Regions from separate parts of the Homo sapiens genome. Here regions 2, 3 and 4 are each linked to region 1. The links are contacts of gene promoters, found by promoter capture Hi-C in blood cells and fetal thymus (Javierre and others, 2016). All regions are on one chromosome and are shown on one strand. Each heading gives the region's core, a stretch centred on a gene start or on the middle of the fragment in contact. The rest is flanking DNA. Distances are from core to core; before and after follow the strand shown. Region 1 holds the start of APBB1 (amyloid beta precursor protein binding family B member 1). Region 2 has its middle 42 kb from the start of MRPL17. Region 3 overlaps LOC124902625 (a long non-coding RNA gene). Region 4 has its middle 12 kb from the start of OR2AG2.

Region 1 (2,700 bases), core at 149-2,648:
GCGAAATGAATGGATTTGAGAAATATTTAGGCAGTGGATGTGACAGAACTTGGTGAAATGAGATGCAGAGAGTGAGAGAGGGGTTAATCTCAAGTCTTGCTCATGACTCCAGATTGGCAAAGAGCCATTTTTGAGATTCGAAGGAAGAACAGATTTGGAAGTGGGGTACAGAGAAAACCACAGAAGATAATTTAGCTTGGAATCTATAGGTTTGGAACTCCTGTTTGTCTTTCAAGGAGATGTCAAGAGAGCAGCTGGACATATGAGTCTGGATTTCAGGAAAGAAGTCTGGGCTGGATATATAAATTTGGGAATCATTAGCATATATATGAAATTTGAAGCTTTGGGAGTAGATAAAATATCTGGGGAGAAAGAACAGATACTGAGAGAAGACAGCTCGGGACAGAGCCAAGAGCCTCACCAGCATCTAAAGAGAGGAGGAGAGGAAGCAAATGAGATTGAGAAGAGCAGACAATGCTGTAGGGCAGAAAGCAGGAAAATGCTTCAAGGAGAGTGAGTTGACATACCCCACCGAATACTACTCAAAGGTAAAGGAGATAACAGTGTCCACTGGAGTTCTCCACAAGGAGGTCTCCGGTGACCTTGGCCTAGACAGTTTCAGTGGGTGTCAGGGACACAGAGTGGAGTGCTTTTAAGAATGAATGGGAAGTAAGGAAATGAAGACAGCAAGCGTTGACTCTGAAGGGCGGAGAGAGCTGGGACTATAGCTAGAGGGGCTCAGAATGCAAGAGATACACAGGCCGATACAAAACAGGTTAGGAATTGGCAGTGGGAAAACTGCTTCTAATCAGTGTTCTTGGCAGTGCTAGGCCTCCTGGCTGAGCTGGGGACACAGCCGCCCCAGGGCACACCCCTCGGTCGCTGAGGGCAACAGAATGCGGCTTGACAGATCCAGGGCCTGGGACCCCTGCTGGAATCGGCGCGGCCTGCCAGCCCACCCCACCCCACGTCCCCTTCCCGGACCTGGGCCTCCCCTCCCCCAACACCCACTGCCCCTCGCTTCGCGTCCTCCATACCCGCCCCTAGTCACCCCGAGGGGCAGGAGGTAAAGGGCAGCGGAAGGGACGGTGTGAGGGCCCGAGTGGACCCTGCGATGGTGGGTATGAGAGGACGGTCTGCGGGCGCGCGGTGGAAGGGCGACCCGGGGATGGGGGATGGGGCCGGCCGGGGGACCCGGGCTGCCGCAGGGTAGGGGCTACAGGGTCCGCCGGCCGCTGGTGATCGGGACGCAGCCACCGGGGCTGGGCCGGGGCAGGGACACCTCCTACCTGCGCGGTGAGGCCCCGGGCCCAGATGACGGAGGTGGCTCAGGCTGCGGGGTTCGGGCTCCGCCGCGGCTTCTCCATCACAACATCCCCCGCCCAGGAGCGCGCGGGCCGCGGGGCCGCGCCCCGAGCGGCGGAGGCGCGCGCAAGGGGAGGGGGAGGGGCGCCATCTTGGGGCGGGCGCGGGAGCGAGCTCGGCGGGCGCGGCACTTGCCGCAGCTTCTTGGGGGCCTCACCCTGCGGGCGGCCCTCGGACCTCGGTGAGCCCCGCGGTCCAGCCCTCCCAGCAGACACCCCTGCAGCCGACTCCCTGGGACCCCCGCCTAGCGCGGCGCCGTCCTCCACTACTATTCCACAGACTCACCCTGCGCGCCCCGCAGCGCCCTGGTCCCGCACCCACGCCGGGAGACGCGCGGACGGGGCTGGAGCCCGAATGGCGGCGGCTGTGCGGCGCCGCGGCCGCGCGGGGAAGGATTCCCGGGAGGCACTCTGCGCCGCTCCTGCTGCACCGCTCCCTGACGTCCTGGTGGGGAGGCTCTGAGGACACAGCGTTGCTCATAATAATAGCTCGTATTTATTGACCACTTACACCGTGCCGGGCTCTCTATTAAACCGTTAACGCGCATTAATCTTCACATCAGCTCTGTAAAATCACCAGAATTATTATCCTCATTTTTCAGAGGCTGAGGCTAAGATTAAGAGAGGTAAAGCGACTTGCCCGCAGTCACAGTTAGTGATGAATTTAGACTGGAACTCCGATGTTTCTTGACACTGAAATACCTCTGCTGCTGAGCATAAAGCTGACATCAAGGCCTGGAAAATGTCAAGAATACATTGCTCCCCGGTAGAAATTCACAAGGAAGGGGATATTGTGAATGAAAAGTGTAAAGATGTAAGGAAGATGGTGGGGTGCAATACTTACTACAGACCCTCCCTGGATAGTGGGATACATCCCAATGGTCAGATCAGTGACCCAGAGGCCATCAAGGATAATGAGAGGTTATATTACCATCCAGAAAGCCTCTACATGCTAATCCCTCTCAGGTGCCTAAAACTAAAGATATCCAAATCTGAGTTCGTTCTTTCTTTCAAGGCAGGGTCTCACTCTGTCACCCAGGGGCAAGATCATGGCTCTCTGAAGCCTCAGCCTCCAGGGCTCAGATTCCTCCCGCCTCAGCCCCCGGAGTACCTGGGCCACAGACATGTGCCACCGCGCCTGGCTTTTTGTATTTTAGTAGAGAGGGGGTCTCACTGTGTTCCCCAGGCTGGTCTGGAACTCCTGTGTTCAAGCGATCCTCCCACCTCGGCCTCCCAAAGTGCTGAGATTACAGGCGTCAGACACAGTGTCCAGCCTCAATTTATTGTTTCATCCCCCTTTATTAGTCTTTTAAGGAGTTTCACTGGGGTGAAAAAG
Region 2 (2,700 bases), core at 48-2,547, 310 kb after region 1:
AAGTACAAATACAAGTAGAAAAAGAGTTTACCTTTAAAAACCTAACAGAGAGCTGATTTCTGAACAGCTATAGTGGAAGCCAAAAGAGAGTAGAATGGAGTATTTATTTCACTGAAAGAAAATATCAGACACAAATTTTATGTATAGTGAGATATTCTTAAAGAATGATCGTGGAAAAGGGACATTTACAACAAAAATTAAAGACTTACAGTTGCAAGATTATGGCATAGGGGCAAGCTGGCTTTACTGTCCCCACTCAGAAAACCAAAAACAAATATATAGCACTGAAATTTTTACCATCAATAACCCAGAGCTCAAGTATGAGGATGAGGCAGTTCCCAGGACCACACAGAAGTGGGAAAACTCTGAGCAGATGGTAAGAGAATCAAATTTCCACATCTGTAATGACCCTACACATTATTCTCTTTGGTACTAAGAACATAGAAAATCTCCCCTGACACCCAACTCAAAGTTTCTACACTGGAACAGGTGAAATTGAGGTGGTCAGTCAGCTTTCCCACTTTCTTGAGTCCCCTGTAAGTTGACCTGTCTTTGCCTTAACCCACAGGAAGCATCATGACTACCTAAAGGGATAAATATCCCTGAGGACAAGCAAAGACAAAGGGAGGAAGTGAGAATATCATCCACATCCTAGGGAATTCTGCTCTGTAACTTGGCCAAAGGAGATGCCAAATCAGAGTGGCTGTTTAGCAGCAGCACATTGTAGGAGGTATGTTCCATAGGTGCCCTGGGCATGAACCATTAGCCAGCCTTCCCACATTGCTGAGATAATCCTTTTGAGACCTCCCCCATTCAGGACAGGCAACGCTATAATCATTTACCAGAGCCGAGGTGAACTTAGGCTTAAGGCACCACCTAGACTGAAAAAGGAGGCAGCAATCTAGTGGTAAATATTCACTAAATAAATATACTAAATAAAAACCAGAACAAGCCAAAGAAAGAAAACTGGAATAAATAACTTCTCCTTCAATGCAAAGGCATTGGCACATGCCCACAAGAAACAACAACAATCAGGGAGCCATTACCTCCACAGAAAGACTAAGCAAAAATCCAGTGACTGACTCTAATGAGATAGTGATCTGTGAATTCTCTGCCCAAGAGAAACTCAATTATCTCAAAGGTAAAGCAGTTCAGAAGCATGTCAGAAAGTGTAACAAAGAGATTGAAACAATAATTAAAAAAAATTAAACAAAAATATTGGAACTGAGACATACGTTTGCTGAAACAAAGAACCCTTTAGAGGCTCTCAACACCAGAATGAACTAAGCAGATGAAGGAATCAGTGAGCTCAAAGACTGGCTATTTGAAAGTAGATAGTCTGATGAGAAAAAATAATGAAAAGGAACAAAGACTGCCTGCAAGATATAGAAAATTACCTCAAGGGACCAAAGGTAAAAATTGTTGCTGTTCAAGAGGGAGCTGAGCAAGAGTAAGAGAGTAAGTGGTAGAAGGCTTATTTAAAAAAAAACCCAAAAAACAAAAACAGGATGGGCATGGTGGCCCACACCTGGTAATCCCAGCAATTTGGGAGGCTGAGGTGGGTAGATTGCTTGAGCTCAGGAGTTTTAAGCCAGCCTGAGCAGCATGGCCAGGCCCTGTTTCTACAGAAAAATTCAAAAATTAGCTGAGCGTGGTGGTATGTGCCTGTGGTCTCAGCTACTTGGGAAGCTGAGGTGGGAGGATCTCTTGAGCCTGGGAGATGGAGGTTGCAGTGAACATGATCATGCCACTGTACTGTAGTCTGGGTGACAGAGTGAGACCCTGCCTCAAAATAAATAAATAAATATATAAAGATATATATAAATATAAATATATATATAAATATAAAGGAAAACTTTCTGAAACTTGAGAAAGATATACATATCCTGGTACAGAAAGGTCTGAGAACATCAAACATTCAATCCATATGAGACTACTCCAAGGCATACGACTTTGAAAAGGTCAAAGACAAAGAAAGGATTGTAAAAGCAGAAAAAAAAGCAAAAGCAAATAACATATGAAGAAAGTCCAATTCATCTGGCAACAGAGTTCTTGTTGGATGCCATATAGGTCAGGAGGGAATGGAGTGACATTTTCAAAATGCCCAAAGACAGAAAACTCCCACCCAGGAATTCTAAATCCAGCAAAAATACCCTTTAAATATGAAGGAGAGATAAAGTCTTTCCTAGACAAACAAAATCTGGGCGAATTCACCACCACCAGACCTATCTTGCAAGTAATACTTAAGGGAGTTCTTCAATCTGAAAGAAAAAACACTAATGTGGAAAGATAAACTTTTCAAGATATAAAATTCACTGGAAAAATTAAGTAAACGGACAAACCAAGAATACTCCATTACTATAATTGTAGTGTGCAATTCACTTAACATGCTAGTATGAAGCCCAAAAGACAAATCTATCAAAAATAATAGATCCTGAATCAAAGACCAGAGGAAAAATATAGGTATAGCAACCTATTAAAAGATAGATGATATTAAAATATGTAAATTGAGACAACCAAAAGTCAAAATATGGGGACATGGAGTTAAAATGTAGAATTTGTTGTTTTTTTTTGGTTTGTTTATATTCTTTTATATGTAGTCTAAGTTGTCATCTTTTAAAAATAATTTTTTATATATATAAGATGTTTTCTGTAAGCCTCATGTTAACCACAGTACAACAGGCTATAATAAGTTCACTA
Region 3 (2,700 bases), core at 183-2,682, 280 kb after region 1:
CAGAAGGATGGAGAGTGTATCTGGGACACAAACAGAAAATATTCCCCACAAACAATTTTTAAAAAAACCTGGCCGGGCACGGTGGCTCACACCTGTAATCCCAACACTTTGGGAGGCTGAGGCGGGTGGATCATGAGGTCAGGAGTTCAAGACCAGCCTGGCCAACATGCTGAAACCCCGTCTCTACTAAAAATACAGAAAGCTGGGCATGATGGTGCACATCTGTAATCCCAGCTAGTCAGGAGGCTGAGGCAGGAGAATCACTTGAACCCAGGGGGCAGAGGTTGCAGTGAGCTGAGATCGCACCACTGCACTCCAGCCTCCGTCTCAAAACCATACCAAGCCCCTACATTCATAGGGCTTATATTCTAGGAACGCTCTCTTCAAACTTAGGTATGCACACTGTGGGGGTTGATGGGACTTTCTAGGAGATACACATGTATAGATAGTTTTACAGTAATTTCTTTCAGGTCCTCAACATCCATATGTTTCTTTTCCAAAATTGATCTGCCCAAGAATATGTCTATTGTAGAAATAGCATTGTTATTCTTCTTTCCCACCTCCGCTTACACATTGACCCTTCACTCATTTTAAAAAAGAAAGCTATTCTTCTTGCCCATTTTCAATCTTATGGCACATTGTCCTGAATAAAAAATCCAAGGGGTAAAACAGAGGAACAAATCAAAATATTGGTGTATATGAAGCCTCCTTTTCCTTGCTTATACGTTTCTGTTAAGAAAAAAAATGTGGCATTAGAAATGGTATTTTTGTCTCTTCTAAATCTTCTTATGTAAAAAAGAAAAAAAAAGAAATGGTATTTTTGGCTCATGATAGACTATACTAAAACCAGATATGTTGTAGTAAGGACAGCAAGAATAATAATTTTTGTTGAATGATTTCATCTCTTTTGACTGCTGACAATTGCTAAACCAAACCAACAAACAAAAACATCATTCCTAAAGGAAAGTTCTGTTAAGAAAATCATAGAGATTACTGTTAAGAAGTAGTGAAGGTGATACTAATTTAATTCATATGACAAATTTTTGGCAACATCACTTACCCATAATTAGAATATTCAAGATTTATAAAAATCATGCTGGGAAATGTAACATACATTCTATAACATGTATCCTTTGCATTTGCATAAATTTCACAAATGAGAAAAAGCTTAATGAGTATTTTTGTTCACTTAGGTCCAGGTGCATATTTCATAAAATTTCAGTAATTAGAAGAAGAAATTTTATGTTTGCTTCTACCACTTTATTTTTATTTATTTATTTACTTAGAGACAGAATCTGGCTCTGTTGCCCAGGCTGGAGTGCAATGGTGCCATCTCCGCTCACTGCAACCTCCGCCTCCCGGGTTCAAGCAATTCTCTTGCCTCAGTCTCCCAAGTAGCTGGGATCACAGGCACCCGTCACCACACCTGGCTAGTTTTTGGATTTTTAGTAGAGACGGGGTTTTGCCATGTTGGTCAGGCTGGTCTCGAACTCCTGACTGACCTCAGGTGATCTGCTTGCCTCAGCCTCCCAAAGTGCTGGGATTACAGGTGTGAGCCACTGCACCTGGTCTGCTTCTACCACTTTAATGTTACATGTAAGAGAAAAAACAATATATATTGGAAGTAAGTTAACCATGTACATTTATTCAAACTCATGGGAGAAACATTTTTATTAGCTTTTTTTTTTTTTAAAAAAAAAGCTTTATTGAGCTAAATTCACATACCAGAAAGTTCTTCCATTAGCTTTTGATAGAGGTTGGGGTCCTATAAATATGTATTTATTTTTACCCTCGCTCATGACTTACTTGTTACTCTTCAACCAATTTTCTTGTAATTTATTCATTCCTATCATCGATTTAAGAAATTTAGATTAGCTTTATTTGAATATTTGGTTAATTCTATTGTAAAAATCCTTCTGTAACAATAATTAATACACGTTTTAAGCCCCTGCACTTCTAAGCAGCCCAGTACCTTTACTTTTTGCTCTTAATCTCTACTAAACCCAGTCACATTTTAACATTGGGTATTTTATTCATTTAAGGATAAGGGAACTAATTAAAAAAAAACTTGCCCTGTTCTTGTCTTTAGAAGATGTATTTTAATAAAAAAGTACTCTTTCTATTTAAGAATTATTTATCACAGATTTGTAAAATACTTTGTTTCGCTTAGTTCTATACTATAAAACTGAAATGGTAACTAAACCTGTAAGAAATCAGTTGAAATTTACATTTCAAATTTATACGCATATTTTGTGGCCCAAGTCATGTATGCTACTCTTATAACTGACAAAGGGGTTGTGGACAGAATATGTAAAGGACTCCTAGAAAATCAACACAAGATAAAAATGGGTGAAAAACTTGAGTAGGCATTTTATGAAAGTGAATATTCAAATAGCCAATAAAGGACAAAAATGTAAAACTTCATTATTAATTAAGGAAATACATATTAAAACCATATTGAAATAGTACTATATACTCCAGAATGGCTAAAGTTAAAAAGACTTTCTGATAAAATTAAGTCTTGGTGAGTATGAGAAGCAACTGGAATTCTCATACATTTCTGATAAAGGCATAAATTGCAACATACACTTTGAAAGCTGGTTGGTACTCTTTACAGAAGTTGAAAATGTATATGCTACAACCCAGAAATCCTACTCCTAGTATATACACACATGCCTAATGGAAATGTGTATATATGTG
Region 4 (2,700 bases), core at 132-2,631, 340 kb after region 1:
GCATCGTTCCAACTCTGACCCTGCTACCTCCCTCTTATAAGGACCCTTGTGATTATATTGAACCCACCTGGATAATCCGGGATAATTTTCTTGTCTCAAGATTGGTAATTTAATCACATCTACAAAGTCCTTTTTGCCATCTAAGGTACCATGTACAGGTTCTGGGGAGTAGGAATGTGAACATCTTTGGGGGACATTTATTTATCAATAGCATACTCAAAGAGAGACTAGCCCTCAGTGAGTCAAATGACTACAAAACACGTGGCTAATCTTTTTTTAATAACTTTTTTAAGCTAAAATATAACAGTTATACAAATACTAAAAAATGCTCAGAATGTATATGTACAGCTCAATGAATCTGGCACAAGGCATACACACTCCAGTAACCACTATTCAGGTCAAGTTACAGAGCATTACCAACACCCCAGTATTCTTTCCTTATGCCCTCTTCTAATCACTATACCTTCACTCACTCCCCAAAAGCAGTTTAACACCATACATCAGTTATGTTTCTTAGACAGGCAATTGAAATGATACAATATGTATGTTTTGTGCCTGCCTTCCTTCACTCAATATTACGTTTGTAAGATTTATCCATGTTACTATATGGAGCTATTGTGGTTCATTTTCTTTTCTTTCTTTTTTTTTGAGAGTCTCGCCTTGTCACCCAGGCTGTAGTTCCTCTCTGTTCCATTGGTCTATATATCTGTTTTGGTACCAGTACCATGCTGTTTTTGTTACTTTAGCCTTGTAGTATAGTTTATAGCATTGTAGTATAGATTGCAATGGCACGATCTCGGCTCACTGCAAGCTCTGCCTCCCAGGTTCAAATGATTCTCCTGCCTCAGTCTCCTGAGAGCTGGGATTACAGGCGTCTGCCACCACGCCCAGCTAATATTTGCATTTTTTCAGTAGAGACAGGTTTTACCATGTTGGCCAGGCTGATCTCGAGCTCCTGACTGTGTGATCTGCCTGCCTCAGCCTCCCAAAGTGCTGGAATTACAGGTGTGAGCCACTGCGCCTGGCCTCGTAGTTCATTTTCTTTGTTGTATAATGCATTGTATGACTAGATCACAGTTTATTTATCCTTTATGCTGATGAACAAACATGTGGGTTGTTTTCAGCTTTGGGGTATTTTAAACAGTGTTGCTATAAATAGTTTTGCACATGTCTTTTGGTGCACATATACACACATTTCTGTCAGGCATATACAACAAGTAGAATTGCTTGGTTATGGCATATACATATCTTCAACTTCAGTAGAGAATACCAACCAGTTAAAAAAATTTTTTTATTATACTTTAAGTTCTAGGGTACAGTGCAGAACGTGCAGTTTTGTTACATAGGTATATACATGCCATGGTGGTTTGCTGCACCCATCAACCCGTCACCTACCTTAGGTATTTCTCCTAATGCTATCCCTCCCCCAGTCCCCCACCCATGACAGGCCCCAGTGTGTGATACCTCCCTATGTCCATGTGTTCTCATTGTTCAACTCCCACTTATGAGTAAGAACATGCGGTGTTTGGTTTTCTGTTCTTAGTTTGCTGAGAATGATGGTTTCCAGCATCATCCATGTCCCTGCAAAGGACATCGTTTTCATGGCTGCATGGTATTCCATGGTGCATATGTGCCACATTTTCTTAATCCAGCCTATCACTGATGGGCATTTGGGTTGGTTTCAAGTCTTTGCTATTGTGAATAGTGCTGCAATAAACATACATGTGCACGTGTCTATACAGTAGAATAATTTATAATCCTTTGAGTATATACTCAGTAATGGGATTGCTGGGTCAAATGGTATTTCTGGTTCTAGATCTTTGAGGACTCATCACATTGTATTCCACAATCATTGAACTAATTTACACTCCCACCAACAGTGTAAAATTGTCCCTATTTCTCCACATCCTCTTCAGCATCTGTTGTTGCCTGGCTTTTTAATGATCACCATTCTAACTGGGGTGAGATGGTATCTCATTGTGGTTTTGATTTGCATTTCTCTAATGACCAGTGATGATGAGCTTTTTTTCCTACGTTTGTTGGCTGCATAAATGTCTTCTTTTGAGAAGTGTCTGTTCATATCCTTCATCCACTTTTTGATGGGGTTGTTTTTTTTCTTGTAAATTTGTTTAAGTTCTTTGTAGATTCTGTATATTAGCCCTTTGTCAGATGGATAGATTGCAAAAATTTTCTCCTATTCTGTAGGTTGCATGTTCACTCTGATGATAGTTTCTTTTGCTGTGCAGTAACTCTTTAGTTTAATTAGATCCCATTTGTCAATTTTGGCTTTTGTTGCCATTGCTTTTTGTGTTTTAGTCATGAAGTCTTTGCCCATGCCTATGTCCCGAATGGTATTGCCTAGGTTTTCTTCTAGGGTTTTTATGGTTTTAGGTCTAACATTTAAGTCTTTAATCCATCTTGAATTAATTTTTGTATAAAGTGTAAGGAAGGGGTCCAGTTTCAGTTGTCCGCATATGGCTAGTTTTCCCAACACCTTTTATTAAACAGGGAATCCTTTCCCCATTACTTGTTTTTGTCAGATTTGTCAAAGATCAGATGGTTGTAGACATGTGGTGTTATTTCTGAGGCCTCTCTGTTCCATTGGTCTAGATATCTGTTTTGGTACCAGTACCATGCTGTTTTTGTTACTTTAGCCTTGCAGTATAGTTTAAAGTCAGGTAGCATGATGCCTCCAGCTTT

The links. Contacts are between HindIII fragments. The CHiCAGO score rates a contact against its expected background, and 5 or more counts as called.
Region 2: a contact is called between a fragment that was not itself captured here and the fragment with the promoter of APBB1 in region 1, in 5 of 17 cell types (activated CD4 T cells, naive CD8 T cells, naive CD4 T cells and 2 more). The highest score is 7.2, in activated CD4 T cells.
Region 3: a fragment that was not itself captured here is called in contact with the fragment with the promoter of APBB1 in region 1 in 1 of 17 cell types (fetal thymus); the score reaches 5.1 in fetal thymus.
Region 4: a fragment that was not itself captured here is called in contact with the fragment with the promoter of APBB1 in region 1 in 4 of 17 cell types (non-activated CD4 T cells, activated CD4 T cells, total CD8 T cells and 1 more); the score reaches 8.1 in non-activated CD4 T cells.

What each region holds. Positions count from the first base shown.
Region 1 is chr11:6,417,696-6,420,395 of GRCh38, forward strand. APBB1 (amyloid beta precursor protein binding family B member 1) reads right to left here and starts at 1,399. Exons shown (of 15, transcript NM_001164.5): 1 at 1,290-1,399. RefSeq lists silencers at 1,167-1,356, 1,367-1,766. The HindIII fragment of the contact is 2,464 bases long and covers 340-2,700 here.
Region 2 is chr11:6,723,569-6,726,268 of GRCh38, forward strand. No RefSeq gene overlaps it. Among named protein-coding and RNA genes, the nearest start is that of MRPL17, 42 kb to the left of the region's middle. The HindIII fragment of the contact is 3,986 bases long and covers 1-2,700 here.
Region 3 is chr11:6,699,072-6,701,771 of GRCh38, forward strand. The region is part of intron 3 of LOC124902625 (a long non-coding RNA gene); the gene reads left to right. Among named protein-coding and RNA genes, the nearest start is that of MRPL17, 17 kb to the left of the region's middle. The HindIII fragment of the contact is 534 bases long and covers 1,166-1,699 here.
Region 4 is chr11:6,758,702-6,761,401 of GRCh38, forward strand. No RefSeq gene overlaps it. Among named protein-coding and RNA genes, the nearest start is that of OR2AG2, 12 kb to the right of the region's middle. The HindIII fragment of the contact is 3,754 bases long and covers 1-2,700 here.